3 separate regions of the Homo sapiens genome follow, and all the other regions are linked to region 1. The links are contacts of gene promoters, found by promoter capture Hi-C in human tissues and cell types (Jung and others, 2019). All regions are on one chromosome and are shown on one strand. Each heading gives the region's core, a stretch centred on a gene start or on the middle of the fragment in contact. The rest is flanking DNA. Distances are from core to core; before and after follow the strand shown.

Region 1 (2,995 bases), core at 146-2,645:
CACGCGAATCCGATTTCCCTCTCCTCCCATAGCTACTTCTTGTCTATTCATCCTTTCCAGATGTCGCCCTGTCCCACCCCATCTGTCCCCTTCTTCCCCGTGTGAAGCCCATCTTCTTTCTAACCCCATTTGCACCCGTCTGATTTTACAGTCAAGGACTTCAATAAGATAAATGATGCAGAGTTCTACTGGGAACCAGATTGTGTGTGTTTCTGAAACTTTTGCGCGTTTACTGAAATGGGATTAGGGATTTGGATACAGAAACATTCTCGGGCAGCCTTTCAGCCCTGGCACAGCTTTGTACACCTTGGAGCGCGCTGGGGCCTATTCTAACGGGCAAGGACAGGGAAGTCTTTCAAGACCTTTTCTGGCCTTTTCCACTCCAGGGGTCAGGATGAATAGGCATCACTGACCCAAACTGTTAAACCAGGCCGGGTGGGGAAGCCTGGGGCCCTCTTCTGCGGCAGATCTGGCGGGGTGTCCAGGGCGCCGCGGGGCTCCGTGCAAGAAGGGGTTGGGGCAGGGGCCGCTGCGGCCGCAGGAGTCACCGGGCCTCCTCGGGAGGTCCGCTCACCTCTTACAGAGGAGGCCGACCCCAGGCCGGGTGCTCCCCTGGGGCGCAGGGCGCGGCCCCGGGCGCCGCCACCGCAGCGGCGCCGAGGGCCGGAGGTGCAGCCTTTCCCCAGGAGAGAAGGCGAGTCGCTGTCGGTCGCTCAGCCAGAAGGTCGAGGGAACCGCGCGGGTGTCCCTCGCCAGCCGGCCCTCTGGGAACAGGGCGGGGGCGACACCCCAGGGAGTAGGGCTGAGGACCGCAAAAATCAATCGTGGGTACCGGCGCGGGGTCACGCATAGGAGAGGAGCGGGAGAGGGGCTGGTGGGGGCCCCAGGGCGGCTGAGGCCGTGGCTCTGTCGTGGACTCGGCGGGCGCCCCGAAGTCTGGGGCCGCCACGGCTCCAGCTCCGCCGGCTCCGGCCGGAGACTCCAGGCCGCAGTTTCTCCTCCTCCCGGCGCCTTCTCTCCAGTGAGGAGCTGAGCGCGGGCGGCGCGGGGGGAGGGGTGGCGGCGGAGAGAACAGCCAGTTGTTTAAAATCCTTCTAGAGCAGTTTCTAATTCCCCCCTTGCGCCCGGGTTCGGAGGGGGGAGGGGGAAGGAGAGCGGGTGGAGGGAGGAGAGCGGAGAGGGAAGGCGGGAGGGAGGGAGTCGGGGAGGGAGGGAAGGAGGGAGGAGACTGCCGCTGAGGCTTAGCCGCCACCGCGCGCTTCGGAAGGCCAGAGGGAGGGGGAGGCCTGTCAGTCTCGCGCGTTGCCTGGGCGAAGGGGGCGGAGCTTTGGCGTGGGGCGGCCAATAGTGGGGGTGGCTGCGTGGGTCGCCATGGGGACGGGGCTGTTCCCGGGGAGGCTGTGATGGGTTGACAGGTGCGTGACAGTGGGAGCTGCTCTCGGCACAAGCATGTACGGCAAAGGCAAGAGTAACAGCAGCGCCGTCCCGTCCGACAGCCAGGCCCGGGAGAAGTAAGTGTCTCCGCTTCTCACCCACCTCCGCCTTCACACGCGCGCACACTCACGCACGCACTCGCACACTCTGGGAGACACAGACACTCTCCGCCCGGGGAGCGCCGGGGGTGGGCTGGCAGGGGGAGGGGTGCCGCGATGGGGGCGTGTGGTGCGGGGAGCTGCGCTTTCCCGGGAGGTGCGGGCGCTGGGCGGGCGGCCGCAGGGGGCTGTCGGCGGGAGGGACCGGGTGTGTTGAGGGGCGGCGGTGGTGCTGGTGGCGAGGATGGAAACTTGTTTGGGTGATTGAGGGAAATAACCCGCGGGTTCACCTTCCAAAGTAACTTTAGAGCTGGGGTCCGGGGCTCCGGGGACCTGGGGAGCCGCCGGGGGTGGCGGGAGGGGCAGCTGCGTGGAGGAAGGCGCGCAGTGGGAATGTGGGTGTTTGGCGGGCCGGCCGGGGTCGGGGCCGGGGTCGGGGCGGGCAGCGCGGGGAGCGCGGCGGCGGGGGCCTGGGCGCTGGGGCTTAGGGCCGCGAGCGCGGGGCGAGGCGAGGCGAGGGCGGCGGTGCCGGGCGCGCGGCGGGCGGAAGCCGGGCGTGGAGCGGCCGAGCGGGGCCCCGCGGGGCGCGGAGACGCGCGCGGGGCGCGGAGGGCGTGTGCGGGTTGGGCGTCCGGGCTTTCCTGGGCCAGCTACGGACGCGGCGCCCGCAGTCCCCCGCGCATCGCGGGGCTGGGGCTGGGGCTGGGGCGGGGGCGGGGGCGGGTGGGCGCCGGAGACGCCGCCGAAGTTTGGGAGTCGGAGAGGGACCGAGTTCCCGGGGAGCTAAAGTGTGTTGGCGAGGAGCGGGATCCGCTGGAGGAGGCTGGCGTTTCTGCCTCTCGCAGCGGACCCAACTCCGCGGCGGCGGCTGGCGAACTTTTTGTGAGGCTGGCAGCCCCCGAGCGGCGGGAGGGGCGGGCCCGGCGGGGCGGTGGTCGGGGGCGCGCGGAGGGGAGTTGTGGGAGCCGCCGGGGGCGCCCGAGGAGGGCAGCTGTGGCGGGGAGGGCCAGTGGTCCGAAAAGGGGTTTGTGGGAGGGGAGAAGCGTTCAGGTGGGAAGGAGCCGCTTGGTTACAGTTGTGGGGAGATACAGGTGTTAACTTCGGTGGGAGCCCAAGAGGCGGCTGGCGAGAACAGAGCCCCTCCCGGCCCGGGATGCCACTGTCACGGCACACTGCAAAGCAAAGCGGTTTGCTGCTATTCTTGTGTACTTGTAACGGTGATTTGGTTGTTACTAAAAATGAGAACGAATAGTGACTGTGATCACTGAGGAAGAACCCCCCCCTTTTTTTTTTAAACTGTGCAACAGATCAGTGATTCCCAGTAACCACTTAAACTCTGAGGGTCAGAGTTATCCTTGTCGTTGAACGCACCCTGTCTTTCTGAGGGGGTTCAGACCAGAGAAAAAGTCTGAGAGCATCTCTCAAAGGTACTTTGGTTACCTTGCGCACAGAAATAGCTGCGT
Region 2 (2,995 bases), core at 161-2,660, 330 kb before region 1:
AGTGGAGTCTACAGAGGCAGGCAGGCCTCCTTGAGCTGCAGTGGGCTCCACCCAGTTCGAGCTTCCCGGCCACTTTGTTTACCTACGCAAGCCTCAGCAATGGTGGATGCCCCTCCCCCAGCCTCACTGCTGCCTTGCAGTTTGATCTCAGACTACTGTGCTAGCAGTGAGTGAGGCTCCGTAGGGGTGGGATTCTACGAGCCAGGCACAGGATATAATCTCCTGGTGTGCCGTTTGCTAAGACCCTTGGAAAAGCACAGTATTAGGGTTGGAGTCTCCCATTTTTCCAGGTACCATCTGTCACAGCTTCCCTTTGCTAGGAAAGGGAATTCCCCAACCCCTTGTGCTTCCCGGGTGAGGCGATGCCTCGCCCTGCTCCATGGGCTGCACCCACTGTCTGACAAGCCCCAGTGAGATGAACCCGGTACCTCAGTTGGAAATGCAGAAATCACCCATCTTCTGTGTCGCTCACGCTGGGAGCTGCAGAATGGAGCTGCTCCTATTCGGCCATGTTGGAACCTTCCCCCCAGTATTTTTTAATTTTCTACTATAGTTGTTTATCTAGTTTACAAACATAGTTTCTAAGACAACCATGATTGGAATTATCTGGAAAAATTATAAATATATCTCTATTTACTAAAACACCAGTCTTCCATATTTCCTGATATGGTTTCTATTTCATGAAAGTGAATGAATTTCTAACCATTTTAGTTCAGTTAAAAAAAAAAAGAAACATTACTAACAGTTGGATAAATGTCTGAGAATTTGTTTTAGTGTCAATGTATTTGTAGTATACTTTAAAAAGGGAAAAAAATCTCAAAGTCCATCAGCCACAAAATATAAGAAGGATTTAGAATAAATTAACCAAGTTCAAAGACTCTCAAGAGGGTCTTTAAAATGAAGCTGCCCATGAGACATTACGTTAATCAAGTAATTGAAAGAAAAAGAAACTGAGCCTAAGTGCCTATTTACTGAGATATTTCTGGGTTTAACAAATTTTGAAGATATAAGAAAGTAGGTGTTTAGGTATTTCTGAATTACTCTTCTCATATTTCAACAACTTTCTCACACTGAACTCCAGAATATATGAATTGTTATAAATCATTGTGGCCAAGGTGTCTAGGAAAAAAGCCAGTCTGATTTTACCCTTTTATCTTCATATGACAGATGTTTAGAGGGCAGGAGCTAAAGTCTATCAAGAAAACTGAATGATTGCTGAAATGGTTTGGCTGTGTCCCCCCCCCCAAATCTCATCTGGAATTGTAACTCCCACAATTCCCATGTGTCATGGGAGGAACCCAGTGGAAGGTAACTGAATTATGGAGGCAGGTCTTTCCTGCACTGTTCTTGTGATAATGAAAGAGTCTCATGAGACCTGATGGTTTTAAAAACAGAAGTTTCCAAGTCCAGGACCAGATGGATTCACAGCTGAATTCTACCAGAGGTACAAGGAGGAACTGGTACCATTCCTTCTGAAACTATTCCAATCAACAGAAAAAGACAGAATCCTCCCTAACTCATTTTATGAGGCCAACATCATCCTGATACCAAGGCCTGGCAGAGACACAACAAAAAAAGAGAATTTTAGACCAATATCCCTGATGAACATCGATGCAAAAATCCTTAATAAAATACTGGCAAACCGAATCCAGCAGCACATCCAAAAGCTTATCCACCATGATCAAGTGGGTTTCATCCCTGGTATGTAAGGCTGGTTCAACATACGCAAATCAATAAACGTAATCCAGCATATAAACAGAACCAAAGACAAAAACCACATGATTATCTCAATAGATGCAGAAAAGGCCTTTGACAAAATTCAACAGCCTTCATGCTAAAAACTCTCAATAAATTAGGTATTCATGGGACATATTGCAAAATAATAAGAGCTATTTATGACAAACCCACAGCCAATATCATACTGGATGGGCAAAAACTGGAAGCATTCCCTTTGAAAACTGGCACAAGACAGGGATGCCCTCTCTCACCACTCCTATTCAACACAGTGTTGGAAGTTCTGGCCAGGGCAATCAGGCAAGAGAAAGAAATAAAGGGTATTCAATTAGGAAAAGAGGAAGTCAAATTGTCCCTGTTTGCAGATAACATGATTGTATATTTAGAAAACCTCATCATCTCAGCCCAAAATCTCCTTAAGCTGATAAGCAACTTCAGCAAAGTCTCAGGATACAAAATCAATGTGCAAAAATCACAAGCATTCTTATACACCAACAACAGACAATCAGCCAAATCATGAGTGAACTCCCATTCACAATTGCTTCAAAGAGAATAAAATACCTAGGAATCCAACTTACAAGGGATGTGAAGGACCTCTTCAAGGAGAACTACAAACCACTGCTCAAGGAAGTAAGAGAGGACACAAACAAGTGGAAGAACACTCCATGCTCATGGACAGGAAGAATCAATATTGTGACAATGGCCATACTGCCCAAGGTAATTTATAGATTCAGTGCCATCCCCATCAAGCTACCAATGACTTTCTTCACAGAATTGGAAAAAACTACCTTAAAGTTCATACGGAACAAAAAAGAGCCCACACTGCCAAGACAATCCTAAGCCAAAAGGACAAAGCTGAAGGCATCATGCTACCTGACTTCAAACTATACTACAAGGCTACAGTAACCAAAACAGCATGGTACTGGTACCAAAACAGAGATATAGACCAATGGAACAGAATAGAGCCCTCAGAAATAATGCCACACATCTACAACCATCTGATCTTTGACAAACCTGAGAAAAACAAGCAATGGGGAAAGGATTTCCTATTTAATAAATGGTGCTGGGAAAACTGGCTAGCCATATATGGAAAGCTGAAAGTGGATCCCTTCCTTACACCTTATACAAAAAGTAATTCAAGATGAATTAAAGACTTAAATGTTAGACCTAAAACCATAAAAACCCTAGAAGAAAACCTAGGCAATACTATTCAGGACATAGGCATGGGCAAGGACTTCATGTCTAAAACACCAAAAGCAAT
Region 3 (2,995 bases), core at 165-2,664, 310 kb after region 1:
ACCCTGTTGAATGATTTCTGCTTAACCTCATTATAACTGATATGATTAAGTCATGAATAATGAATTAATGGTACAGGCTCATTGTTTTTGGAAATTTGTCAAAACAGTCTCAACATATTTAAGCTAAATTATGTTTTGTAGAATATTGAAATGATTGTGCAGTCAAAGAAAATAAATTAGAGAAAATATATTTCTGCTCTTATTTTCAAATTGGATTATTATAGATATAAGTCTAACTTCTGTTTTTTCTTATGCAATGCCTTATTTTTACTGAAATTTTGTATAATTATTTAGGGTCCTCCAGGAGGTGGAGGGCCACCAGGAACACCCATCATGCCTAGTCCAGCAGGTATTGTAATCAAACTAGCCACATGGGCATTTGATTATTAGAATAAAATCACAGAATATAGAAATTGTTCATGAAATAAAGTTAGTAGTATTCATGTTCTCACGATAGTTAAAGGAGTAGAGGCAGCATGGTAGGAAGAAATATAGTGTTCTTAAATAAGTATTATCCAGTTAAGCATTTAGAAAATTCCTATGGTGTGGGTGTCAGATTTAATTAGGATGAACACTGTTGATCTATATGAATTGCCCAAAAATGTGTCTAACTTAAAGATTTATTGAGACTGATAAAACTAACCAAATCTTCTACAATTTAGAAAATTTCTGAATAAATAAAACATTAAATACATGGATTCATTAGGTTTAAAATGCCAAATCAGACTCACCACATCTATTATCTTACTAAGATGAATGAAGGATGAAGAAGTACTTACAGTATTATTTACCCTACATGTCTATAAGTATTTATTAGTCAGCTTATAAATTCACTATGTAATAATAAAAGTTTTTTATCTTCTAAACTAAAACATACTTCAATGTTTTCATAATCCTTTTATATAATTACTTTAAATAGTTTTATCATTTATTTTTGAGACTTTCACACAGACTATTAAATGTGTCTTGGGGTTGTTAACAGTGGAAGACTAAATTGGCGCACCCTTCTTAGAAAATGCTATGATAAAATGTGTCAAGAGCCATGAAAAGGTTCATACCATGTGACTCTATACTTCTAATACTAGAAATGACAGAGATACAACCCAAGATTTATGTAGAAGGATGCTCATTTGTTATACTCAAGAGTAAAACAGTAGACACAAACTCATGCCTAATTCAATTTTAGTGGAATTAGTAAATTAATGTTTAAGGTGTAGGTTAGAATATAATAGAGCCATTATAATTATTATCAAAGAATTTGTAATGACATGGAAAAATAAAATCTCATGATTCAATGCAATATAATCACAGTTTCATTTGAAACCGTAACACAAATCTAGAAAGTAGAAAACAAAGAAATAGGCTAAAACTCTATCAGTTATTACTTTGGGATGATTAAGTAGATGGGAAATTTTAATAATTATAAAGTATTTTTGATTATGATGTTTTACTGTTAAACTCATATGTTTTTAACTGGCTTGTTGAAATTAAGATAGAAGCTTGAAATTCAGTATCATTGATCATACCAATAAAAATTTTTAATTTTGAGCCCTTTCAATTTAGAAAAATCATAAACTTGATAATTAATACAAAATTTTACTTTGCTTCACTAACTCCTTGGATATTTAATGGTCTGTGTCCTGAAGGCATCTTCATTGAAAATGATACAATTCATCGAAGATAGAATTATATCAACTGATCATCTTGCCCATATTTATGTTCTTATATGGTGAAGTTAATGTTTAATTTATGAAGGTAGCATGTGAATAATAAATGCTTCACTGCAAGACTAAAAAAAAGTTTTTGGAGCAACACTGAACATTGCAGGCAATAAGTAATCTTCCTTTCAAACCAGAAATTGCCACAAGTACATCTTCCTAGTCTTTTTGCATACTCTTTTATGTGTTCATCCTGTGTCACAGTCACTCCTCTAATACTCAGCCAGCACCCCACCCACAAGAAAGGAGGTCCCAGGAGATCCACTTTATTGTAAAGTTTTTCTGTACATAGAAGTCAGACATTTTCCAGTAAATACATACATATATATATATATATATATATATATATATATATATATAAAATTTTTTTTTTCTTTGCTGAGACAGAGCCTCTGTCACCCAGGCTGGAGTGCAGTGGCACAATCTCAGCTCGCTGCAAGCTCAGCCTCCTGGATTCAAGCAATTCTCCTGCTGCAGCCTCCCGAGTAGCTGGGATTACAGGAGTGTGCCACCATGCCCGGCTAATTTTTGTATTTTTAGTAGAGACGGGGTTTCACCATGTTGGCAAGGCTGGTCTGGAACTCCTAACCTCAAGTGATTCACCTGCCTTGGCCTCCCAAAGTGCTGGGATTACAGGTGTGAGCCACCTCGCCTGGCCATAAATACCAATCTTATCTCTCTCAAATTTTTTCTGTAGCAGATGAAATTATATTCTTGATTAGTCTTTAAAATGATAAATTTCTTTTCTTTGTGCACATTTAAAATATGTAGCCCATCTTCCTTTTACCAAGAGTAAGGCCAATACAGTTGAAAAACCATTTGAAGATTTCCTATGTTTAAAAAGCAATCCAAGATTTTTTAAAGTTAATCTTGTGTGTGATTGAGTTTATTCCAACAGTTAAATCTAAGTTAGCAGTACTTATTGTCTTTAGTACACAAGATGAGTAAGACACGGTCCTTTCCTTCTCTCCATGAGCTTATTATGTCCTAGTTGGAAGCAGGAGGAACGAATAAAGCAGTAAAGTATTCCTATAATGGAAGGCAGAACTCAGTGGGAGGGGAGCACTCATGCACTTGGAACTGCCAGGAAAAAACCTCATGGAAGACATAACATTTGAGATAGCCCTTCGATAGTGAGTAGAATTTCAGTGCATAGAGATTGAGAAGGTGTTTGGAGGAAGAAAGAACAAAATCATGGAGGCAGAAAGGTTGGTCACAGGAAAAAACAAGTAGCCTGGGTTGACAGGAGTATAGCATACACAAGGATGTAAAAACAG

The links. The method cuts DNA at HindIII sites, captures the fragments that hold promoters and counts their contacts. A contact is called where the count stands out against the background at its distance.
Region 2: a contact is called between a fragment that was not itself captured here and the fragment with the promoter of SSBP2 in region 1, in 1 of the 25 tissues and cell types used here (dorsolateral prefrontal cortex).
Region 3: a fragment that was not itself captured here is called in contact with the fragment with the promoter of SSBP2 in region 1 in 1 of the 25 tissues and cell types used here (dorsolateral prefrontal cortex).

The regions. Positions count from the first base shown.
Region 1 is chr5:81,749,497-81,752,491 of GRCh38, reverse strand. It overlaps SSBP2 (single stranded DNA binding protein 2), which reads left to right and starts at 1,395. Exons shown (of 17, transcript NM_001256732.3): 1 at 1,395-1,511. The coding sequence starts at 1,450. RefSeq lists silencers at 494-843, 1,114-1,443, 1,614-1,663, 2,104-2,153, 2,374-2,533. The HindIII fragment of the contact is 20,998 bases long and covers 1-2,995 here.
Region 2 is chr5:82,080,402-82,083,396 of GRCh38, reverse strand. All of the region lies in intron 3 of ATG10 (autophagy related 10), which reads right to left. Among named protein-coding and RNA genes, the nearest start is that of ATG10, 110 kb to the right of the region's middle. The HindIII fragment of the contact is 3,849 bases long and covers 1-2,995 here.
Region 3 is chr5:81,444,222-81,447,216 of GRCh38, reverse strand. SSBP2 (single stranded DNA binding protein 2) reads left to right here. Exons shown (of 17, transcript NM_001256732.3): 12 at 295-349. Among named protein-coding and RNA genes, the nearest start is that of ACOT12, 52 kb to the right of the region's middle. The HindIII fragment of the contact is 3,574 bases long and covers 1-2,995 here.